7 separate regions of the Homo sapiens genome follow, and regions 2, 3, 4, 5, 6 and 7 are each linked to region 1. The links are contacts of gene promoters, found by promoter capture Hi-C in blood cells and fetal thymus (Javierre and others, 2016). All regions are on one chromosome and are shown on one strand. Each heading gives the region's core, a stretch centred on a gene start or on the middle of the fragment in contact. The rest is flanking DNA. Distances are from core to core; before and after follow the strand shown. Region 1 holds the start of FASTKD3 (FAST kinase domains 3). Region 2 overlaps SRD5A1 (steroid 5 alpha-reductase 1). Region 3 holds the start of MED10 (mediator complex subunit 10). Region 4 overlaps NSUN2 (NOP2/Sun RNA methyltransferase 2). Region 5 overlaps SEMA5A (semaphorin 5A). Region 6 has its middle 18 kb from the start of MED10. Region 7 overlaps SEMA5A (semaphorin 5A).

The links. The method cuts DNA at HindIII sites, captures the fragments that hold promoters and counts their contacts. A CHiCAGO score of 5 or more calls a contact.
Region 2: a fragment that was not itself captured here is called in contact with the fragment with the promoter of FASTKD3 in region 1 in 13 of 17 cell types (total CD4 T cells, naive CD4 T cells, naive CD8 T cells and 10 more); the score reaches 18.0 in total CD4 T cells.
Region 3: the fragment with the promoter of MED10 here is called in contact with the fragment with the promoter of FASTKD3 in region 1 in 9 of 17 cell types (activated CD4 T cells, naive CD8 T cells, naive CD4 T cells and 6 more); the score reaches 20.0 in activated CD4 T cells.
Region 4: a fragment that was not itself captured here is called in contact with the fragment with the promoter of FASTKD3 in region 1 in 8 of 17 cell types (naive CD8 T cells, activated CD4 T cells, total CD4 T cells and 5 more); the score reaches 11.9 in naive CD8 T cells.
Region 5: a fragment that was not itself captured here is called in contact with the fragment with the promoter of FASTKD3 in region 1 in 3 of 17 cell types (erythroblasts, endothelial precursors and M0 macrophages); the score reaches 8.7 in erythroblasts.
Region 6: a fragment that was not itself captured here is called in contact with the fragment with the promoter of FASTKD3 in region 1 in 5 of 17 cell types (total CD4 T cells, activated CD4 T cells, non-activated CD4 T cells and 2 more); the score reaches 10.8 in total CD4 T cells.
Region 7: a contact is called between a fragment that was not itself captured here and the fragment with the promoter of FASTKD3 in region 1, in 1 of 17 cell types (non-activated CD4 T cells). The highest score is 7.5, in non-activated CD4 T cells.

What each region holds. Positions count from the first base shown.
Region 1 is chr5:7,866,936-7,870,280 of GRCh38, reverse strand. FASTKD3 (FAST kinase domains 3) reads left to right here and starts at 1,250. Exons shown (of 7, transcript NM_024091.4): 1 at 1,250-1,302; 2 at 2,085-3,345. The coding sequence starts at 2,198. It overlaps MTRR (5-methyltetrahydrofolate-homocysteine methyltransferase reductase), which reads right to left and starts at 1,133. Exons shown (of 15, transcript NM_002454.3): 1 at 1,066-1,133. RefSeq lists silencers at 631-680, 741-790, 801-1,240. The HindIII fragment of the contact is 2,367 bases long and covers 314-2,680 here.
Region 2 is chr5:6,636,485-6,639,894 of GRCh38, reverse strand. All of the region lies in intron 1 of SRD5A1 (steroid 5 alpha-reductase 1), which reads right to left. Among named protein-coding and RNA genes, the nearest start is that of SRD5A1, 4.8 kb to the right of the region's middle. The HindIII fragment of the contact is 4,539 bases long and covers 1-3,410 here.
Region 3 is chr5:6,376,812-6,379,923 of GRCh38, reverse strand. MED10 (mediator complex subunit 10) reads left to right here and starts at 1,377. Exons shown (of 4, transcript NM_032286.3): 1 at 1,377-1,562; 2 at 2,675-2,758. The coding sequence starts at 1,441. RefSeq lists enhancers at 923-1,142, 1,433-1,642. The HindIII fragment of the contact is 6,030 bases long and covers 1-3,026 here.
Region 4 is chr5:6,612,197-6,615,510 of GRCh38, reverse strand. The region is part of intron 9 of NSUN2 (NOP2/Sun RNA methyltransferase 2); the gene reads left to right. Among named protein-coding and RNA genes, the nearest start is that of NSUN2, 19 kb to the left of the region's middle. The HindIII fragment of the contact is 1,376 bases long and covers 563-1,938 here.
Region 5 is chr5:9,205,968-9,209,120 of GRCh38, reverse strand. All of the region lies in intron 8 of SEMA5A (semaphorin 5A), which reads left to right. Among named protein-coding and RNA genes, the nearest start is that of MIR4636, 150 kb to the right of the region's middle. The HindIII fragment of the contact is 571 bases long and covers 1,415-1,985 here.
Region 6 is chr5:6,358,595-6,361,572 of GRCh38, reverse strand. No RefSeq gene overlaps it. Among named protein-coding and RNA genes, the nearest start is that of MED10, 18 kb to the left of the region's middle. The HindIII fragment of the contact is 1,821 bases long and covers 356-2,176 here.
Region 7 is chr5:9,539,890-9,543,006 of GRCh38, reverse strand. The region is part of intron 1 of SEMA5A (semaphorin 5A); the gene reads left to right. Among named protein-coding and RNA genes, the nearest start is that of SEMA5A, 4.6 kb to the left of the region's middle. The HindIII fragment of the contact is 4,663 bases long and covers 1-3,117 here.

The DNA of each region.
Region 1 (3,345 bases), core at 1-2,500:
TTGGTTCTTATTTGATCCTAACGCTAAACAAACTAATCATAGTACTAAAGGTAACTGAAGCACATACTCTCCTTCATTATTTAATGCAAATCAAAAATATGTGAGTGTATGGGCATATATACAAACGGGTGCATATAACGAAAAAATATTTCCAATCCACTTAAACATTTTACTAACACGTTTTTCCGCAAGAGATAAGCAGTAGTAAAACAAACGACACTCACAGATTTTTTTCCATACTCATCTAACGGCTAAAATTGGTGGGCTGTCAATTTGCAGAGACAGATTTAAACTGAAACCCAAACCAAAAGCTTGGCTTTCGGTGAATGAACCGCCCAGAACGGCACCTGGCATGAAACTGGTACTCGATAAGTTATCTGAATGAGTGAATAAACAATATGAAAACACTACACATTGACAGCTCACAGAAAACGGTGGAAACGATAATGAAAACCTTACTACAGCTAAAATTTCTATCACTTCCCATGAAACACACATCCTGAGGGCTTCCCAGGATCAATCAACCCCTCATCCCTGCTACTGCCCCACAATCCGGCACCACCTTCCCACGACTCTCAGCGGAGGCCCGGGCCCCAGCAGCCCCGGAAGCGGCGCGGAGGCGGTGGGCAGAGCTCACGGCCGCGGGCAGAACTCACGGCCGCGTCCCGCCGGGTGGGCGCTCGGAACGTCCCGGGTTCCCCGGAGCGCGCCGCCCCAACCCGGCATGTTCCCCAGTTCCCCGCGTCCCCGAGTGCGGTTTCCCTAGGCCTGGAAAGCGCCTAGAACCAAAGGCAGAACATGAGGAGAGACCCCACGCCGCCCAGGGGCCTCCCGCGGCAGAGGCCGACGCCGAGCCCAAGGACACGCTCCCGGGGACACCAAAGCCAAAGGCCAAAGGCCAAGTCCGAGCCCCAGCCCGCGCCCGCGGCGACCCCCGGAGGCCGAAGGGCGTGGGAACCACGGGCGCAAGCCGGCTGCCCACCCCCGCCCCGGGCCGCCTCTCCCAGGAGATTAGTGCAGGGCGAGCGGCCGGAATCCGGGAACCGTAGCCGACAGGCAGCTTACCCACGCCGCGCCAGCCGGGCACGAACCTGCACAACGCGACTTCCACCAACCTTGCGCCAGCGCGCACTGACGCAGCGCCCATGCTCGGTACCCAGGACCAATAGAAAGCTCCGAAGGGGACCTGGGCCAATCACATTGCGCCGCCCTGAGTCGTGCTCCCGCCCCGCGTTTGCTACGGAGGCCCACGACGCCCAGGCGCTTCCGCGACCACCCGGAGTGATTGCCCGGCAGAGCGCGGTAGGTGTCAACGCGGGGTCTCCGCGCAGTTGGTCCGGCTGGGTGTCAAAGACCTGGCCGGCTTTCTCCTCAGGCTGCGCCGCCCGGCCCGTGTCTCAGCGCAGGTCCCCGGGGCGCCGAGTTTGGGGGTGCTCGCCCCGCGGGTCCCTTTCATTCCTAGGAAAACGCGCCGCGGGGCCTCCCGTCTGTCTGTCTTGCACACACGTGTTGCCAAATCCCCCCGCACCGTCTTTAGATCTGGACTGGCCGCCCCACCTTCTCCCTTCATTGATCTATGTTTTGCTTTTTCTTTTCCTACCTTGTTTCCATTGACAAAGTAGACCCTTTCCTTCAACACTAACCTTCTCCCGACACCGAGGGGAAACCAACAGCTTAGGGCCTTTCCAGCGCGTTTTTACCCTTGCCTTGCTCTAACCTCGCCTAATTTTGCCCACTTTACCTGTTCTTTGATTTCTATCCAAATGCAATTTCTTCCTTCAACCAACATTTAAGGGCCACCCTTAAGAGCTACATTGCCTGAGTTTGAACCCTAGCTCTGCCACTTAACCACCTGCATAAACTGGGCAAAGTAACTTTGTGCTTCAACTTCTTCCTCGTGTAAAATGATAGTAAAAGTACTGAATCTGTGTAAGTTAATAGAATACCTACAACAGTGTTTAGCAAGTAATAGCGATTGTTATTGTTCAATGTCAGCCACTCTTCTAACTCTAGGATGCAGAGACTTTGCCCCTCTGGTGTTTATATGTTAACCATCCTTTTTTTTTTTTTTTTTTTTTTTCCAGATACTCGTTTGTAGTTTCATAAACATTGATGTTGGGTCAATCATGTTCTCAATGTATTTAACCATGTGTTTTTAAATTTTTTAATTTAGTTATCAAATTGAGAATCTGATGGTATGGCATTAATCACCTTGAGGAAGAACCTTTATCGTTTATCTGATTTTCAGATGCATAGAGCTCTGGCTGCTTTAAAAAATAAACCTCTAAATCATGTTCACAAGGTAGTCAAGGAGCGTCTGTGCCCTTGGTTGTGTTCACGACAACCTGAGCCTTTCGGGGTCAAATTCCATCATGCCCATTGTAAAAAGTTTCATTCGAAAAATGGAAATGACCTTCATCCACTCGGTGGACCAGTGTTCTCTCAAGTATCTGACTGCGACAGGCTTGAACAAAATGTTAAAAATGAGGAGAGTCAGATGTTTTACAGGAGACTGAGCAACTTGACTTCATCAGAAGAAGTGCTAAGTTTTATAAGCACGATGGAAACCCTGCCTGACACTATGGCAGCAGGAGCTTTACAACGAATTTGTGAAGTGGAAAAAAAGGATGGTGATCAAGGGCTGCCAAAAGAAATACTGGAGAATAGCATCTTTCAAGCTTTATGCTTTCAGTTTGAAAAGGAGCCCTCACAGCTGTCAAACACTAGTTTAGTGACTGCTTTGCAAGCTCTGATTCTGTTGCATGTGGATCCTCAAAGTAGCCTGTTGCTGAACCTGGTGGCAGAATGCCAAAATCGTCTCAGAAAAGGTGGCATGGAAGTTCGCAATCTTTGTATTCTTGGGGAAAGTCTGATTACACTGCACAGTTCAGGTTGTGTGACACTAGAACTCATTATAAATCAACTTCAAGGTGAAAAATTGGAAACATTTACCCCGGAGGATATTGTGGCCCTTTATAGAATCTTGCAGGCATGTACTGAAAAAGTGGATGAACACCAAACATTTTTAAATAAGATAAACAACTTTTCCCTATCAATAGTTTCCAACCTGAGTCCTAAATTGATTAGCCAAATGCTCACTGCCCTGGTGGTTCTTGATCAAAGTCAAGCATTTCCTCTGATTATAAAATTGGGCAAATATGTCGTGAGGCATGTCCCACATTTCACTAACGAGGAGCTTAGGAGAGTCTTGGAGGCGTTCATATATTTTGGGCACCATGACACATTTTTTACAAAAGCCCTAGAGCATCGTGTAGCTGCGGTGTGCCTCACGTTGGATCCTGAAGTTGTCTGCAGGGTCATGGAGTACTGCAGTAGAGAACTGAT
Region 2 (3,410 bases), core at 578-3,077, 1.2 Mb after region 1:
AATATCGTCAGTTTTATCTCTAAGATGAAATTATAGGCAACTTTTCTTTCTTTCCTTGAATTATTTTCTAAGTTTTCTACAACAAGCATGTATTTCACCTGTAAGTTTGTTCACATACAATATTGACAAGTATCTTAAGTCCTGGCACCTAACATTCAGAACAGACAGAATGAGAGACACGGAGAAATTCAATTTCCTGGGCTAAATTCAATTTCCTAAAAAGGCTTGGAGAAAATCAGGCGAAATTAATAAACAAGCAAACACAGATTATCCATCTAAGGAAAAAGAAAGTGCCCTATAAGCACCCAGGAAGAAAAATGGATTATTGAAAAGAACAAAATCATCGGGGCTGCCTCCATGTCCATTCTTACTGTCCGCGAGGGCTGTGGGGTGGCACCCACACAAGGGCACTGAGAACTCTGAGCTTCTCAAACGTCTGCTCCTAAGCAGCACTTGAGTGATTTCTCCAGCTATTCAAACGGGCAGAATTACCCATACAGTATAAACCCAAGTAACTGGTAAATAACTGTTCATACTCATATGCTCGATGGGACCTGCTCCAAAGGGGAAAGACTCAAAATATAGCACAGTATGCATTCCAGAGGATGAAAATGCAAGCAACTACTTGGAATGACTATTCTTTAAAGCGTTTAAAGTAAGATGTTTGGGTTTTGTCGTCTTGCAAGCAAGTTCTATGCCTGTTTAATTCACACAGGGAACTAAAGAAGTATGTCTTGAAATATTTTCCCAACAAACTGGAATAATAATCCCTTGGTTTACTTATAACAACAAGGCATTTATTCAGCAAATGATTTGACTCTCAAAGCGTCTGGACGTCATCTTTCAGGACAACCTATAATGTTGTACCCCCAAGTTTGGGAACAATGAAATAGAGAATTTGGTTATATGGGAGTAATTTAGGTCATGGTGGATTTAATAATTTTTAAATGTTTAAAACTGAGAGTGGTTAATTTTAATGATCGACTTTATTGCTTTTTTCCCCTAACAACGTGAGACCATTGAAATCTATGGCACTTCCTAGATTTGGGTCTGTTCCTTTCACCTAGCCTTTCCTTCTGTAAAAGACTTTTGAAATGATGGCCAAATTGCACAGCTGCCAACAAAGCATGCTTAAAATAAGTGCTTGGCTATCATTATTTCACTTTTCATCATCCTACACTTTTGAATAGAAGTTTTTCTTTTCTCAGATTATTCCAATCTATGAGGCAAGGGCCAAGGATTCAGTATGCCCTTATTAAAACAAATTAATTAGAAGGCCATCAGGCTGAGATGGTGTCTTGTGTCTTACATAAGCACATGGAAACCCAACAGTGGAAGGAAACTTAAAGCAATCAGAAACTGCCAATTGACTTCTAATGAGAGATTGTTCCAAGGAGAAACCACCCACTAACCTCCGGAACTTTCCACTCTGACCAATCAAATGCTTCCTTTGTCTTGCTTGTGCAAACACGTCTTACAAAATGGCTTTCCCACACACCTTCTAGGTGGAGCTCATACTGCTTGTGGTTTGGTGCTGATTCATGAATTGGTCTGCTCCAAAAAACGCTATGACTTCTTTTTAAGATGGAGTTTAGTGCTTGTTGCCCAGGCTGGACTGCACCTCCACCTCTGGGTTCAAGCGATTCTCCTGCCTCAGCCTCCCAAGTAGCTGGGATTACAGGCATGCGCCACCACACCCAGCTAAATTTTGTATTTTTAGTAGAGACAGGGTTTCAGCATGTTGGTCAGGACGGTCTTGATCTCCTGACCTCGTGTGATCCACCTTCCTCGGCCTCCCAGCGTGCTGGGATTACAGGCATGAGCCACTGCGCCCAGCCTAAAAAAACTACAATTTTAATGCACCTGAGTTTATCTTTTAACACACTTCACCCTCAAAGTTCCCTGCTGTGTTTTAACATTACCCACCGCACATTTAAAAGTGAAGCTGGGCTAGGCTCCCCACAGGAGCCCATTAATAGGATTACACGAGAGATACAAGGAATCAAAGTAGGTGCAATGTTTTGAGGCACCATCGTCAGAGATAAAGACAGAAGCAAAGTCCCACAAGGTCATGGACCTGGCTGAGTACAAACCTGGGACAGGTGTCAGAAAGAGGAGGCCTCTGGGCATCTGACTGTGCACTCTGGGCACCATTTGGCCACCAGTCCTAACAAAGGCAGTCACTGAGGACTCCCGTGGCAAGCGGCACCTCCTGCTCAGGCTCCTCGGAGTTATTTGTTAAATGAATGTGCAATGCAGAGACAATCCCCTGACTAATTCACTGCTGATAGTGGGGAAGGAAAATCCATGAGCAAAGCAGCCTGGGTTCAGGGAATACTGAACAAAGCTGCGTGGGTGGAGAGAAAGAGCATGAGGTCAGGCACAGTCTGCAAAGCCCCCCAGCGACTCCGACACAGTTCAGAGCTAATGCCCTTGACTCCGGGAGACTTTTGCTGTGTCTAGCAAAGCAGGATTTACAAACGAGGGTAGAGAAAGACCAGTGGGGAAGAGTGAAGAAGCCCAGCAAGAACCAACACAGATGATGAGGACCTGGGTTACAGCACCAGCCCAGGGAGACAAAATAGAGGGCCAGGGAACAGGGTAAATGCAGCGGGGCGTCACTGTAATCACAGAGCAGAGGGCAAAGGTGATAGGAGTAGGCACAGGCTTCGGAAGGCCCTAGGGAGGCCTGCCAGGAGGCTGGGGAAGGCACCTGCCTCCAGGGGCTGCCACCATGCCAGACGCCACTCCATGCTCTACATGACTAGGGCCCCAGTGAGACGCTGCCGCCCCTGCACCCAAGAACCCAAGCGCCCTGGGATCAGAAGGAGGCTTCAGCACAGATAGGAGGCAGGCAATCCTTGTCGCTACCGTGAGCCCTAAAGATGTTCCTGAAAATGTCCTTTGCCCTCCTGGGGGAACTGGTCAGGACCACAGCTCGTCCTGCGTCATGGCTATCCCCCCACCCCAGCCCTGTCCCCTTCCAGGCAGCCTGTCCTTCCCTCCCTGGTGTTTGTGTCCAAAAGACCCCATAGATTCTCCATAACCTGTCTTTTACTCCTCAACTCAAAGGGAATGTCTTGTCACTATATCCCCAGCACAACGCCAGGTCCAGAAATCCTCACTGGCACGTAAGTCTTCCTTAAGTGTTTGCTGAATAAATACATGAAAGCGCACCATTCCCTCTATCCCTTCCTTCACCTTTCCTCCCTCCTTGACCTGACTGTCCTGTACTCATTGTTCCCAGAACAGTCAGTTGCTCTGGGAAGAGCTGTAGCTCTGCTGCTGCCTTCAGGCCTCATGGACTGTGGAAAGTCCCTGGACCTGGCTCTGGTCCTTGCCACTCCCAAAAGAGGCTCTAGTTCCCCAAGGCAGGGCCCAACCTCACTCCAGCGAAACCTCACAGGTCA
Region 3 (3,112 bases), core at 128-2,627, 1.5 Mb after region 1:
ATATATACTAGCAAAGAGATACCCTTAAATTTTTAAAATAAATACTTACCAAAGCCTAAGTTCCATCAATTATCTATCTTTCTTACTTATGAAATTGAGAAAGGCCGTTCACTCCATGTCGCTACCTCTACCTAATAACTTAAAATTTTTTATTTGTCTAATATTTTATTTCCACCTTTTTTTTTTTTTTTTGAGTCTTGCTCTGTTGCCCAGGCTGGAGTGCAGTGGCATGATCTCGGCTTACTGCAACCTCTGCCTCCTGGGTTCAAGCAATTCTCCTGTCTCAGCCTCCCAAGTAGCTGGGACTACAGGCGCACACCACCATGTCTGACTAATTTTTGTATTTTTAGTAGAGACAGGGTTTCTCCATATTGGTCAGGTCGGTCTCGAACTCCTCACCTCAGGTAATCCACCTGCCTTGGCCTTCCAAAGTTCTGGGATTACAGGCCTGAGCCACCACGCCCAGCCTCCATCTTGTTTTATAATTCCCTAAAGTTAATTGTTGTTAAATCAGGAGAGAAGTATTTTATGTAACATTTCTGTTTATCAGCCCAGCCCACCAACTGGAGTGCCCTGATTCCATAAGTTTGGCAAGTCACTTACCTTCTCTGGCTTTCCATTTCTGGTCACAGCTGGGAGAGGCTCTGAAGATCATCTAGCAAAGGAGCTCCCTCACTTTGCCTGTTTCTAGGCACTGAAAAGTACAGGCCACAAATATATTCAGTAAAATAAATCACTTGAGAAATTCAAACAGGCTAGAGGAGATATCCGCTATCATAGGAGATCGGGCAGAAAAGTTTCTTAAACATAAGAGTGAAATGACCTAAACTGAATTTCAATGAGATAAACAGCAGTTTACTAAGACAGGGCAACCCCACAGGGTGCTGTTTGGTCAGAATTGGCCCGAGGAGGTGAGACCCTGACCTACGAAGGCAGCAGGTGTCCGGGAAGCATGGTTAGCAGCAAGAGCTAGGGGAGGTGGCCGCCGATTACATAGAAGAAAGGAGGCAGGCAGGCGCTGATCCCAGGGGTTCTGGTAGAGGGGCAGGGAAACTACCGTTATTGGTCCTTCATGCAAACTTTAGGATTTTCATCCATGTGTGTATTGCTTGAAGATGCTGCATTGCAGAAAGTCTTCAACTTCTCCCATGACCGAGGCAGGTCTGATGAGAGTGCAAACAGTTAGTACTCGCCCAGCTGCGCGCCGAGGCCTCCTCCAGAATCCAGACCGCATCCCCGAAAGCCCGCCCTGCCCCGCACTTAGGCCCCGCCCCAACACGCCCGTCCCGATAACGAGGCTCCGCCCCCAAGAGCTCGCCCGCGCTCCCCCAGAGGAAACGGAAGTCGTATCTGTCCGGACGGAAGCAGGAAGCGGGAGCGTAGGGCCACGCCTGCGGCGCTGCTGGTTGAGGCTGTGTGGGTCGGGGACGGGCCGAGGCGATGGCGGAGAAGTTTGACCACCTAGAGGAGCACCTGGAGAAGTTCGTGGAGAACATTCGGCAGCTCGGCATCATCGTCAGTGACTTCCAGCCCAGCAGCCAGGCCGGGCTCAACCAAAAGCTGTGAGTGGCGGCCCGAGGCTGCCGGGGTCTCCCCAGGGCCTGGCCGGGAAGCGTGTGCTAGGGGAGCGGGGATCTAGGGAGCCCGAGCCGAGCCTGACCGCTACTCGTGCCCCGCCAGCCCTCTGGTCTGGTCCCGGAGCCCGGGGCGCCTTTCCTGGCTGTGTTCAGAGGGCGGGGCCCGCGCTCCAGCCTGTTGCCAAGAGCCAACCTCTTTGAGGCCCCTTTGGAGACGTCGTCATGGCCAGATGATATACTTTACGTTTCCCTATCAAGGGAATCATGCTTTCTCTTCTAGCGTCTCCCCTCTCATGTGTAACCCCCTCCCAGCCTTTTCCTCCTGGAGCCCTTCTGGGAATTCAGTCCCTGTCTCCAGAGGGGAGGCAGGCTCCACAGTGAGTGCACGCCCTAAACTAGGCCTCAGAAGGTGAGGCTCCGAAGCCACCTGCCGCATAGGCCTGACAGTGGAGGAAATAGCGGGGAGGTGGTGCTGAGAAAGGTTGCAGAACGTTTATTATTATTATTTCTTGGCAACAGCCTTGTGCTGCCCATGTTGCTAGGCCCTGGGTTGGAGAAAAGGCAAATGCAAGTACAGCACTTTCGAGAAGGGCTTTATATGTGGCACGGACATAGAAAATGTTGCACTCGAGGTTCCATACCTAGTGCTGTGGGAATAGCCAGACCAGCCTGATGCTGTAGGAAGGCTCCAGAGAGGAGAGGAAGCTAAACCAGACAGTATGGCTTTCTTTCCCTCAGACTTTGAGTATAGTCCGCTGCCTCATGTGTTCGCTGAAACCGCACACACAGTCATATGCACAGTCAGGTAATTGTTTTTGAGAGAAGGTTCATATTTTTCATCAGGTTCCCTCTCCATCCCCCTTACTGGCAATTTCTAGTTGAGAAGGAAAGTAACAAATATTTAAGGGTATTTTGTAACTCTAACGGTGTCCTAGGAATCCTGTAGCTAACCAAAGAGGTCAGAACCGTGTGTAACCCGCATAGCTGTGAGGAGAACGAACTTGCGTGGAGCCCCGGTTGGCTGGGTAGCTCTGTGGGTGGTGCTTATGCTGTCAAGCGAAATTAACCAGATGCCTGTGTGTTTGCCTTTCCCCCAGGAATTTTATTGTTACTGGCTTACAGGATATTGACAAGTGCAGACAGCAGCTTCATGATATTACTGTACCGTTAGAAGTTTTTGAGTAAGTAACATTCTTGATATTAGTCTTGGGTATAAATCTTGTTCAGTTATGGTGTGGTATCGTGACTTCTTCATCACTGGCATTCGAGTGCCTGCTGTGTGGTAGGCACAGCCTGGGTGCTGGGGATGTGCCAGTGGAAAAAAAAATAGACAAAAATACAAAAATACCTGCCCTTATGGAACTTCCGTTCTAATGGCATTACAAAACGAAAAAAAAGAATATCCTTAATATTCTATTGTGGAAAAAAAGTTACATGTAAATAAAAGCTTATTAAATATATGAAATACATCATAGGTCCTCAAAGCCCTGCTTAGGCTAAAGAACAGCCACAAAACTTTCTTTTTTCCTTAAGAG
Region 4 (3,314 bases), core at 1-2,500, 1.3 Mb after region 1:
ATAATTGCCATGGTGTTGGTGATACTTTATTCCAAAAGGTGTGTGAGGGGGAGTATGGGGCACATAATAGTTTAGTTGTAATGAAATTACACCTTCAAGTGTGATTTGGGGTCAGTTGTTAGGACTGTTGAATCCTGCTCAGATTTTTGTGTTCATTAGCTAGGAATTTAGGAAACCATGATTCCAGGCAGCTTGAGCAGCACAGACACCTCCTGTTTCCCTTGCCACAGTCTGCTTTCAGATCCCTGAGAAAGAAAATGGACTGCATTTATTAATTTGCATGCCTAGTTGCCATTTACGACTCAGACTTGAGGGTGGGCCCCAGTTCCTGGGCGCACTCACTGCATTCTTGGCTGGTGCTCTTTGTCTTTTGTAAAGACAGCTTCCCCCGGTTTCTCGGTGAGCAGCTTTCTTGACTTGGGGTGAGTGGTCACAGCCCCATCTTGTGCTGCTTAGCTTCAAATGTTTGTAGATTCTTTAAGCATTTGCTACTCTCCTAAGTCTGTGTTGGCTAGTTAAGTACTCTAGGTGTTTAATTTTGCTCCTTTTTCTCTTGTAAGCTTTTGGCTGGGACCAAAAGCCAGGTCTCCTGAGTTCTTAGGTGAGAGAGGCTCTTGTCCACACAAGCCTGTCCTCACTCGTGGCTGGAGTCACTCTTTGCAGGCAGGACTTGCTGGCCTGAGTCCACCGGGCTTTCTTTCCTCACATTGGAGATACTTGCTGTTTGCCTGTCTCATTACCGCAAAATTGTCCCCGCTCAGAGAACATGCTGTGTGCTCTGTGGGCTGGCTGTGCTGTCAGACCGGGTTACTTGCCTGGAGCTCTGGATGCTTCTGCCACCCTCACCCATTTCCTGAACGTGCCAACGTTTGAAGGAGTGGCTTCGTGAGGGGTTGTCATCTGAAAGCAGGTTGAATCCAAGTTCTAGTTCTCATTCCCATGGGTCTCTCTTTCCAGCAGCAGTGGGGAACCATCATTCTCCTGAAAACCCACTGATCTCTAAGGGAAGAGTGGACAGAACCTCACACACAGTGCACCATGTTCGAAAGTTAAGAATGAGCAAGCGTGACCCAGGCACGGGGGAGTGAGGAAGAGCTGCAGGGTGAAAAAGAAAACGGGAATGCTGGTGATCAGGATTGTGAGGAGGGATGAGCAGATGTGGGATTGTCCTGGGGTACTGATGGGTTCGTCTTCATCCGGTCTGAAACCTTTCTTGATTGTGGATTTTCATTGGTCTTTCTGATTTTCAGACTGGCTGGCTGGTTCTTTTTCTTGTATTTAGAATGTTACTGCTGGTTTTCTGAGTGAACGCTTGCAGATCTTTTCAGACTTCACCAAATTTGTGGCTCTAGTTGGCTTTATGTCTGTCTATATGTGTGTGTTGTGGGTTTTTTTTTTTTTTTTTTTTTTTTTTTCCGAGACAGTCTCGCTCTGTTGCCCAGGCTGGAGTGCAGTGGCGCCATCTCGGCTCACTGCAACCTCCATCTCCCGGGTTAAGTGATTCTCCTGCCTCAGCCTCCCGAGTAGCTGGGACTACAGGCATGTGCCACCACGCCCAGCCAATTTTTGTATTTTTAGTAGAGACGGGGTTTCACCATGTTGGCCAGGCTGGTCTCAAACTCCTGACTTCAGGCAGTCTTCCCACCTCGGCCTCCCAAAGTGCTGGGATTACAGGTGTGAGCCACCATGCCTGGCCTGGCAGGCTTTCTTTTGAAAGCCCAGTAAATAACACCCTCTTTCCCTGTCCAGCTTCTGAACCAATTGACAAGGTAATGGAGCAAGGCAGACCAAGGCCAAAATCGCACCTTTATTACCAATAGAGCAGATGATATGCTTTCAGATACTTACCTTTAAAATGAGGCTTATCTCCTCATTGTCACAGGTCACAGAAGGTGTTAGACTATGGCATGCAGTTGAGCTTTGTTCTAAGGGCAAGCTTCACTGCAAGACAAGAAAGGAGACAGTATGCTCAGGTTCTTTATTCAAATTTTGGAATCATTTTAGCTTTCTGAGATGCCAGGGGAGATACCTTGGGGGTGGAGGGAGTTCTTGGTCAGGGGCTGGCTTCTGCCTCCACATAGGAGATTTCAAAGAACAGCCAGCACCGTTTGGCCAGTGGGTTTTAAGTATAAGGGCATTCATATTTAGAAAAAAAGTACATGGATTCTTTTCCTTCAAGTAACTGCATTGCTTTTTGCAACTTTTCCTCTAGTCTTCACTGTGTTGAATAGTTTTGATTGTGTTGTGTATATCTTAAATACCCTGCTTTTTCACCTAACATTCCAATATGTCATAGTAGTTTTTCCTGTTAGCAAGTGTCAAAAATGAATTACTTCATTCAGTGAGTCTCCTATTCTGTAGTCATTTTCTTACTGGACAGGTGGGTTTCCAGCATGGACCTGTGTACAGTATGATGTCACAGCCAACTTTTTGCATGTGGGTGGCTTCAGACCGTATTGTAGATGCTTCCTCCCTTTTCTCTGTCAGAGGCGGTGTGCATGGATATGGCTTTATGCAGGAAGGAGCAGACCTTGGCTGAGCCTTAGAGTGGGTGGTTGCTGGTGATTTTGACTGGAGGGGGTGTGCGTTCCCCACCTGAAAGTGCTCAACAACTTTACTGGAGAAGGGGCAACATGGGGTAGCATTGGCAGCTTCCAACCCAGGTGCTGGGGTGTGGAGATAACACCTGCTGCCTGCCCTGCTCATCTGTGAAGCCCCTGGACAGTGTTTGATGGAGAAGCCCGCATGTTTGCCTGCACTGTCATTTACTGTTAGCTTTTAAAAGGAAGAGGATTCAGAAATGATGGCAGAAGTCAGTACGATGCTTGCTTCAAAGGTTTCTTACTGCCATTCCTCCACCTTGGAGATTCTTTTCCTTTGTTTTTGTAATTGTCCCATTTTCATGTTTTCTGGGAGATTTGTTGAATTTTCCTCTGCTGAGAGGCTGTCACATCAGTATCTGTGCTAGTAGCTGGTCTCACTGGTTTCCTGTAATGGCCTCACCTTATAGCTTCTTATTGTGTCACTGGTATGGACACTTAAGGCCAGTGTGTTTTCACAGCTCTTATCGCATTGTTTTTAAAACTGGGCTGACTGTGTCCCGATGGGCAATTTTAGGAAACTTCCTGGGACCACGAACTTGAGGTTTAAAAATTCCCATAGTTCATTTTCAGCATTGCTCTGGGATGTTTGTTAGACATGCCTGCGTGAAGACCTGCAGCATCGCCCTGGTGTGCATTGGAATGGGGAGACGGAGCAGGCGTCCTGCAGCCCAGCCTTCTGGTTGTCTTCTTGCGGAGTTAGTCTCGCGTCTG
Region 5 (3,153 bases), core at 451-2,950, 1.3 Mb before region 1:
TGGTGCTTCTCATTTAGGGGAAGCCAGCCCATTTCCCCTTGGTAAAAGTGGTTCCTACTTGAATCAGCAAATTCATGAAAGTAGTGTATTTTCAATGGGTCATATTCCCCAGGAAGAAGGAAGGAATCAAATGTGCTAGAACTGTCTTTCCACTCCTACTGCAAGGGTCTTAGCAATAACTTTTTTCTGTCAAGGGGCTCAATGAGTGACACACCTGAGGATGCAAGGCCCTGATTGCTGTGAAAATAGTTACCAAGGATGCACTTGGCTCCAACTTCCTACCCCATCCCACACCACACACCCAGGAAACGGAGTGATAAGTTTTTCTTTAAAACTCTTTGGTGTCTCTCCAATGGCAGTTGAAATCCATACTCCTTGTTATGGGCTCCTGGCTTTGCCTGGCTTTCCACCTCCCGTCCTGTTGATCTCTTTGATCCTGACTGTGGCTTCATTCCATTCCTTGCCAGCCTTATGGTCTTCTCCCAGGCTGCTCCTTCTGGCAGGGATGTTCTCTTCCCCCATCCTTGTCTGGGTGGCCCCTTCTCAGCCTCACCTCTGCCCTTTCCCTATTCTCTCCTTTCTGATCCTCTGTTTCTCCCAGCTGCCCTGGCCCTCCATACCCTTGTCCTCACTGTAAGCACTTGTTGATCTGTCTTGTTTGTCTCCTCACACTGCTCTTGAGGGCACGGGCTGTGTCTATCAGTTTACTAAGGAGCACCCAGTGCCCAGGACAGCCCCTTGAGGCAGTGAGGAAATGCCTAGAGCAGTACTCTGGCCGGCTCCAGGCTCGTCTGTAGCATGGTCCCTGCCACTGTGTTTGGTTTCAGGCTTGATGGAATAAGTGTAGATCTTAATTTGATATACGGAATGCATACTCAATGAGTTATCTTATTAATTACTGATACTATTTACTCACATCTGTGTTTATATTAATTTTTGGAGTTATTTTTAATAAATAGAGGTCTGTATTTTGATGATTACCAGCAAAGTGCGTTTGATTCTCACAATGATACTGTATGTTGGATGTTGTTGTTATTCAAAAACAGGAAACAGAGAAAATATACTGGTAAATAATGTGAGTAAATTCACACAGCCAGTAGGTGGAAGTATTGAGCCATGTATACATATATCTCTATACTCATGTATGTGATACACACATATACACAGACACAAATGTGCGCATCCATCTATTAAAATCTATCTATTATCTATCTATCTATGTATCTATCTATCTATCTATCTATCTATCTATCTATCTATCTATCTATCATCATCTGTCTTTTAGTAGAAACCTCAGGAAAAGAACTTTAGCCTACCAGTAGCTTTTAACCTATGTTTAATTTAATTTAATTTTAAGTTATCCGCTTTTAATTTTAATGAATATCTAGATAAAAATAGATTTGCCCTGGAAGCTTCTACAGCAGTTTTATCTACATAAACTGTGACAATGGAAACAATGTACCCAATACAGAGAGGGTCTAAAATCAGGGAATGCTTATGGAAGGCATTTTGTACTGACTGATACCAACAATTTAGGAACAGAAAACTGCTGGCTGTGTGTCACATCTGAATATTGTTTCCGTTAACTCATCTTATTTTTGTGAAATAGCTTGCTATTTAAAAACTCAGCATGGTAGACCAGGGGCAGTGGCTCATGCCTATAATCCCAGCACTTTGGGAGGCTGAAGTGGGCGGATCACCTGAGGTTGGGAGTTCAAGACCAGTCTAACCAACATGGAGAAACCCCATCTCTATTAAAAATACAAAATTAGCCGGGTGTGGTGGTGCACACCTGGAATCCCAGCTACTTGGAAGGCTGAGGCAGGAGAATCTCTTGAACCTGGGAGGCGGAGGTTGCAGTGAGCTGAGATCGCACCATTGCACTCCAGCCTGGGCAACAAGAGAGAAACTCTGTCTCAAAACACAAACAAACAAAACTCAGTATGACTTATTTATGCTCCTAAAATTCTAATGACCTTTAAGCTTTATATATATATATATATATATATATATATATACACTTGATCATTCATTATCATTATGTGAAGTTCTGTTCAACAGAAATTATTCCAAGGGACATTGAGAGTAAATAAATGGTGGCTACTATTTTGCAGTCAAAAGCCACCTTGTGCGACACTTGCCAAAGTCAGGCTGGAAAATGCCTGTACACGATGCCAAAATAATAATAGCCACCATTTATTGGCATCCTGCTATGTATCAGCCCATTTAATTTTCACAGCTTTGCAAACTAGGTCTGATTGTCAGATGCAACAACAGAAAATATCAGATGTCAATGGTCCAACCAGGGCAGAGTCACAGGCATCGTGTACAGGCATTTTCCAGCCTGACTTTGGCAAGTGTCTCACAAGGCGACTTTTGACTGCAAAATAATTTATAATTGACTTTGATTCTAGTAAGATTTTTGTAGAGTTGGGATTCCTTTGTGCCTTTAATATTCATTCCCATTGTGTACAAATATTTTTATATCAAGAACCTATTAAAGATCTGCTCAATGATCAGATCGAGCCATTTGAATATGGTGTACCCCCATATTGATGCTTTAGGCATTGGAATAGAAAGAATATAGAATGGGAGGCTTCTTTTGGATTCTCAGTATTTGGTTTTGCGTGGTCGAAATCTCAAAATTTTTGATGTTTTTCTTCGCATCACTTGTAATTACATATATGGTGAGTCACTTCTCGGTAGTCCTATCTGTATGGTCACTATTATGTAAGTAAATATGCAAAATAAAAGTTCTTATATCATGAAGAAGAATTCTTATTAACATGATATATTTTGTACAACACGGTAATACATAACTCAGTATGTTTTACAAACATTAGAAAAAACAGTTTCTCCATGCATATGTTTACACAGCAGCTGACGTGCCTGTTTTTACTGTGATTTAGTTAGCAACATACCTCAGATCTCTCTTTCATGCACTCCTATCCATTGTAGACAAGAAGAAAATACCTGATTTTCCTTCTGACTTGTTCAATTCACTCAGGAGTGACAGATACTAGTTTGTGGTGGATTGCATTTTGAGAAAAGACAGAACTTAAATAATGGAAGGAAAACAAAATTCATCTTATCATCCTGCCTGGCAAGACTCTAACATCCCCTACTTCCAAATTTATATCAATAAATATAAGA
Region 6 (2,978 bases), core at 17-2,516, 1.5 Mb after region 1:
AACGTATATTTACACATATGTGTTGTATTTATTTTAACTGTGATTGTCCTTTACTGTTTCATGTAGGTTTGCTGCAAATTAGGAAAGGTTCAGCTAAGAATGAGATGCAAAGATAGAAATTAATTTTTCTCCTGCAACAGCAATGCTAAGCTGTCTGCCCAGACAGCAGTAGCTCCTCACAGGCATCAGCCAGGACCCAGGCTCACCTGTCTGCTCTGCCATCCTCAGCATGGGTTCTGTCCTCACATTACAAGATGGCTGCTGCACCTCCAGGCATCACGTTTGCATTCCAGGCAGGAATAACATAGAGGGAGGGCAAAGGCCGACGGGCAAAAAGATTTCTCCTGTGGAAGCTTTGCCATTTTATTCTGGAAGGGCTGTCTTTCTCATGGACTTCTGCTCACATCTCATGGACAAGAACACTGTCGCATGGCCCCCCGCCCCCGATTACGAGGGAGTCGAGTGATCTTAGGTTTAGCTCTTACAGTCCTTAGAACAGAGGCAGGCAGGGGCAGAGAACAGAGGCAGGCAGGGGCAGAGAACTGAGGCAGGCAGGGGCAGAGAACAGAGGCAGGCAGGGGCAGAGAACTGAGGCAGGCAGGGGCAGAGAACAGAGGCAGGCAGGGGCAGAGAACTGAGGCAGGCAGGGGCAGAGGGGACTGACAAGGAATGGGAGCTCTCAGGCAGCCGGCGGGGCCTGCTCTGGCACCTTCAGGATGAGGATGGCCTGGATTTCCATTCACTGGGTGCTCATGTTGGCCCTTTCCTGTAGAAACTTACTTTGTAGGAGTGACTTAAGGCTAAAAATTGAATTTCATGTAAGTAAATTTAAACCCCGGATGCGTCATTGTGAGTTTTCAAGTTTAGTTTATCTGATGAGCGCAAGGCCCAGCACTGCGCCTCAGTCTAGACAGAGTTTGGAATAAGAAGCAGCAGCCATCCACGCGGGGCTGTCTGCAGGCTCCCTCTGGGAGTGCTGAGGAATGGCATGGTTGGTGACAGTGCTCACCAGAGGTTGCGTCCGGGAGCTGCAGAGGAGCTGCTTTGTCCGTCCATGGCCCTGCCCACATCCACGGCTGCTGCCTCCCTGGCTGGCCTCACCTTCGCCTCTGCCTAGAGTAGTCTCAAGTCAGGGCATAGATGCTGGCGGGACCGAGGTAAATAATCCGACTGGAAAAGCAAGCAGGAGTCTTCCCGATTCTCCAGGTGGGAGGATTCCCGAGTCTCAAGCTGGAGTCCTGGGAGGCACAGCCACTGTGAGGTGCCACCTGCAGCCGCAGGCAGATGGGTCAGGGAAGCAGGGCCTCCTCTGCCTGCAGTGGCTGCAGGACTCGTAGGCGTCACCCTCTTTAACGCATCACAGCTAGTTTATTTTCACCTTTTCATGGGCCATCATCTGTTCCTAACCTCCTGTTCCTCTTCTCAAGGTTGGGGGAGGTGGCTCGATGCAAAGACGGCCCCAGGGCCTGCCACATCCTGCCTCCTCCTTCCAGCTCTCTCCCCTCTCCTTCCTGCCCAGCCTTCCTCTTGAAAACGCCCTGAGCCCTTTTCCTGTGCCTTTCTCAGCCACCTGCCTGCAGAGGGGCTGCTGATGAGGAAGAGATGGTCCCTTCCCTGCCTGCGCTCCCGTGCTCACTCTGCGTGTCCACCCCATCAACCCTCCAGGGACGCTTCTTTTTCTCCCAAGATATGTTAGGGGAAGAGGCACGTATTTTAAGGTGCCCTCTGGGCAGTCTCTTTGTGCCCCAGCATTTATTAATTTGCAGCCACATGCAGCCTGGAGTGTCAGAGTCCCAAAGGGATGTTAATACAGTCGTCCACTGATTTAATCAAAAGCAGCAGCTGGGGCCCGGGGTGCGGTCGAGTTATGAAATTAAGACACAGTGCAACACACAGGAGGGCCTTTTATGCAAACTGTTGGTCTGACCACTTAAAAGTTTGGGATGTGAGTGAAAATTGAATGTTCATCCTCAGATGTGTAGCATGCTCCACTGTGAAACTAATTGCATTTCAGTAGCACGTGGAGGCCATTATCATTGCTATTATTAATAACCATTTATTAACTGTGCACAGTGTGAAACCAGAGAGCTTACTCAGCACAGAGCCCTCCATTACAGAAACTGGGCATACACAGGATCGATTTGGACCTGTTTTTTATTGCTGCTCTTGTTAAGCTTAAATAGTCTTTTGTTTGTACAAATGTTATTTTTGTGCAGCGAGCAAAAGCAGATAGCGTACTTAACACTGCTGTTTCGCACACTTGTTTTTCATGGTGAAAAATGTGAATGGTGCAGAGCTTCCAGACCCAGCCTCAGTGTTTTTAACCATGGACATCCTCCCAGGCAGACCAGATGCCCTCTACGCGTAATATTCAGGTTTGTGCTTAGAAAAATACATAGAGGATCGCATTATACACACCCTTCAGGGTTTTGCTTTTTTCGTTTGAAATACCTTTGCAAATCTTTGTCAGCAGGGGCAGGCTGGCAGGCCCGTCGGTGGTGCCCATGGCATGGAGGAGCCGCAATGTGCTTAGACTCTAGGATGCCAGCAGTGCCATGGGGTATGCCATTGTTCATTGTCCTGGACTGGCATCTGTGGAGTCCCTTGGGATTAATTTCTTAAGATGGAATTATGTGTACTTAAATGTTGCTAATTATTACCAAACTGTGACCCAAAAAAGTGTCACCAATCAGCCCTCCCAGAAATGGCACGGGGAAGTGTCTGCTTTGGTTCATCATGTTTCTGAGCTCCCAGCTCTCTGGCCCCCTCTGCAGAGATCGACCACTAAGGCTGTTTATTGAGTTTATTGAGTGTCCTTCTAGACTTTTTATGTATGCCACACTCATAGGCATGCTTATTGTGTCTCTCCTAATTCTCCTCAATGGTTGTGACAGTTTCTCCAAACTGGGGCCCAGGATGGGTGGGATCACCTGTGCGGTGCGGAGCTTGGAGCCATGGCTGCAGGGAGCTCAGGAAAC
Region 7 (3,117 bases), core at 604-3,103, 1.7 Mb before region 1:
TCATAAAGTCATTGAAATTGAGCCTTTGCTTTTGATACAGGAAGATGTGGAGGAGGAGCAGAAAACCTTTACTAAATGTCCAGCCAAGAGTATAAAGGCATTGCATTATGTAGACAAGTGATCATGAACCCTAGAGTTAACTAATATCAAAAACTCATCCCAAGGAAGAGGTTTGAGCTACAAAGCAGATGGTGTGCAAGATAGAACAAATGAGTTTATAACATATCCCAGTCAAGGAATCCATTTTTATAGTAGTATATGTACAACTATTTGAGTACAGCAGCCGTACATCCTGCAATAAATCCTCCATAATTCTTGATTCTAAAATTATACCAATTTTGTATTTAAAAATGTTTCTGCAATTGTTGCTATAGTTACCCAGACAAATTGCTTGGGGTATAATTATACCAAGGTGACAAGTTTTTATGTGTTAAATAATGTTTAAAATGTAAATTATGGTGTCTAACAAATTGAGTTACAACTAAGTACAAAGTGTCTAAAGTGAAGCATTGTACATTTCTGCTCACCTGCATCTACTTGCAAATTTATACCAAGAAAGTTAACTGTTTTCTTGAATCATAAAATGAGCGTCTATAAGTACTTTCAGTTGTCTTGAGTACAGTTGACAACATAGATAATTTCACATATGTTCTCAGCAACCTTTTAAAATTGAGATGCAGAAGTTTGGTTGAAAATTAGGTTTTTATCACTCTGCTACCCTGCAGAAATGATAGGGGGCAATCTCCTGTTTCCAATTCCTGTATAGATTGGGAGCAACTTGGGGATAAATTCAGCAGGTGAGATGTGGCTGCTGGGAAGCACTTTGGAGAAACAGATATGGGTACGCTTGGTAAATATATAGCATATTTTTCAGATGAATTTTTTAAGAATTGGTTATCCAGATATACAAAATCAATTTCTGATAGGGAGAAAAGAAGAAAAAGCAAAATTAAAGTAAGCTAGAATATACATAAACTTTTCAATATAAATGAACCTGCTCAAAACTTGCTTCGATTCAAAATTGAAGCAAAATAGAACAAAACAAATGAAAACTTGACCCAAGAGAAGGTATTGGATAATAGGTAATTTATTTCAACATACTAGTATTGACAGTCTTTGCCATCTAAAAGGTTGTATAGCTAAGGAAACCAGGCTGTCCATTTCACAGAGTATTTTGAAGCCAGGCAACTTCAAAGACAAGTCATATTTCACCTTGTGCATGAAATTTAAAGTAGGAGTGACACAACAGTGGATCAAGAAAACAGAAAAATTTCCCAAAGGAATTGCTGTTGTCATCTTCTTTCTTCTTTTTTGGTCCAAGATTAATGGTTGTTTGACAAGAGCAAAGACAAGCACACTTTATTTCCCTTTCCTACATTTTAAAATGTAGTGACATAGTATTGCTGCATTTGGAAAAAAGAAAATCATTCTGTTTTTAAACTCTTTTTTTCCTTATTGGTTTCCTAGAATTGGTTTCCTGATTAACACTTGGGGAAAAAAAACTATTTTAAAAGAGAATAATTTTTTTAGAGGATGAAATTCTTTTATTATTGAAAGGTCATGAGCCCACTAATCTTTTATCTTCCCATCTTTCACTCATTATTTGTCACTGTATTTCTGTAGAATTGGCTAAACTAGGGTTCATGTAGAATAATGAGGAAGTATACACTGGAAAAATGTTATTTTATGTTACATTTTTATGTACAATTGAGAGTAAATTACACTACTGCAATAGGTAATTCAATTACAGATATGTATGATAAATAACCAGTAGAGTGATTCTATCAGAAGCCAACTCTGTGGGTGAAATAATACTATATTTGTTGAGACGTGAAATTAAGTAAGTTATAGGCGAGTGACAATCAGGATAACACAAGGACAAATCGTTCACAGAAAATCGAGCCTCTTTCAATCAGTTCAAATCCACCCAATGTTTGGCAAGGATGTATGATGTACTCATGGAAAGAAAAACAGAGTCAAGGAAAGCAACTAAGAAAAAATTTGCTAAGCAGTTTCCTGTGATCTGTCTGCAAAATCATAAAACCGAAACTTCTATTCTCCTGAATCACAGCAGAGATGGCATTCCTCACAAAGTGACTTCAAATAAAATTCCACACAAAGAGCTTTTCTTTCTGTAAAAACAAAACAAAACAAAACCGGAGATGTGACACGTCTTGCAGAGGGCCCCCAAAGCTGTTCTGAGCCAGCTACCAAGGCAGCTGACTCCTGCCAGTGCCCCCAAACCTGCTGTGGAAAGAGAACGCTTCGGAGGCCAGGGACATTTATGGTTGGGCATCCTGTAAACAAATGGATTTTAGAATCACAACTGGCTTCCGTGACTCCTTTTACAGGACTGAGATTTAGGTTTGTTGTAAAACTACTGATTTTCTTTTCTTTTTTTCTTATTTTTGAGACAGAGTCTTGCTCTGTCACCCTGGCTGGGGTGCAGTGGCGCGATCTTGGCTCACTGCAACCTCTGCCTCCTAGGTTTAAGCAATTCTTATGCCTCATCCTCCTGAGCAGCTGGGACTACAGGTGTCCGCCACATGCCCAGCTAATTTTTTTTTTTTTTTGAATTTTTAGTAGAGACGGGGTTTCACCATGTTAGCCTGGATGGTCTCGATCTCCTGACCTCGTGATCCACCCGCCTCGGCCTCCCAAAGTGCTGGGATTACAGGCGTGAGCCACCGCGCCCGGCCTTCTCTCCATATCATTTTGCAGAACTCCACGCACTGCCTTTATTTCTTAAAGTCTTTCACTGATACAGAATGTCAGCTTAGGAGACCAATGAGACTGTTTTGTTCGCAGCTGTGTTGCCCACGCTGCCTAGAACAGTGCCTGGCACGCAGGAGGCTCTCGGGCCATCTTGGGTAAGTGACCGAATCAAAAAATGCCCTTAGAGACTATGTATATAGTATAGACTGCAATAGAGTATACTGAGAGAAAGGACTAAGGCTTAAGCAAGACTTTTGGGGGCTAACCATGGACTCTAAAACTACTTATATTCTTTATTTAGAGAAAAATGTTCCAAATGCCTCCAAACTGATTTTTTAGCACAGTCTTAAAATACAAATGTCTTTGTAAACTGGCAGGTGGAGGGTTGGGAGAGGGACTGCA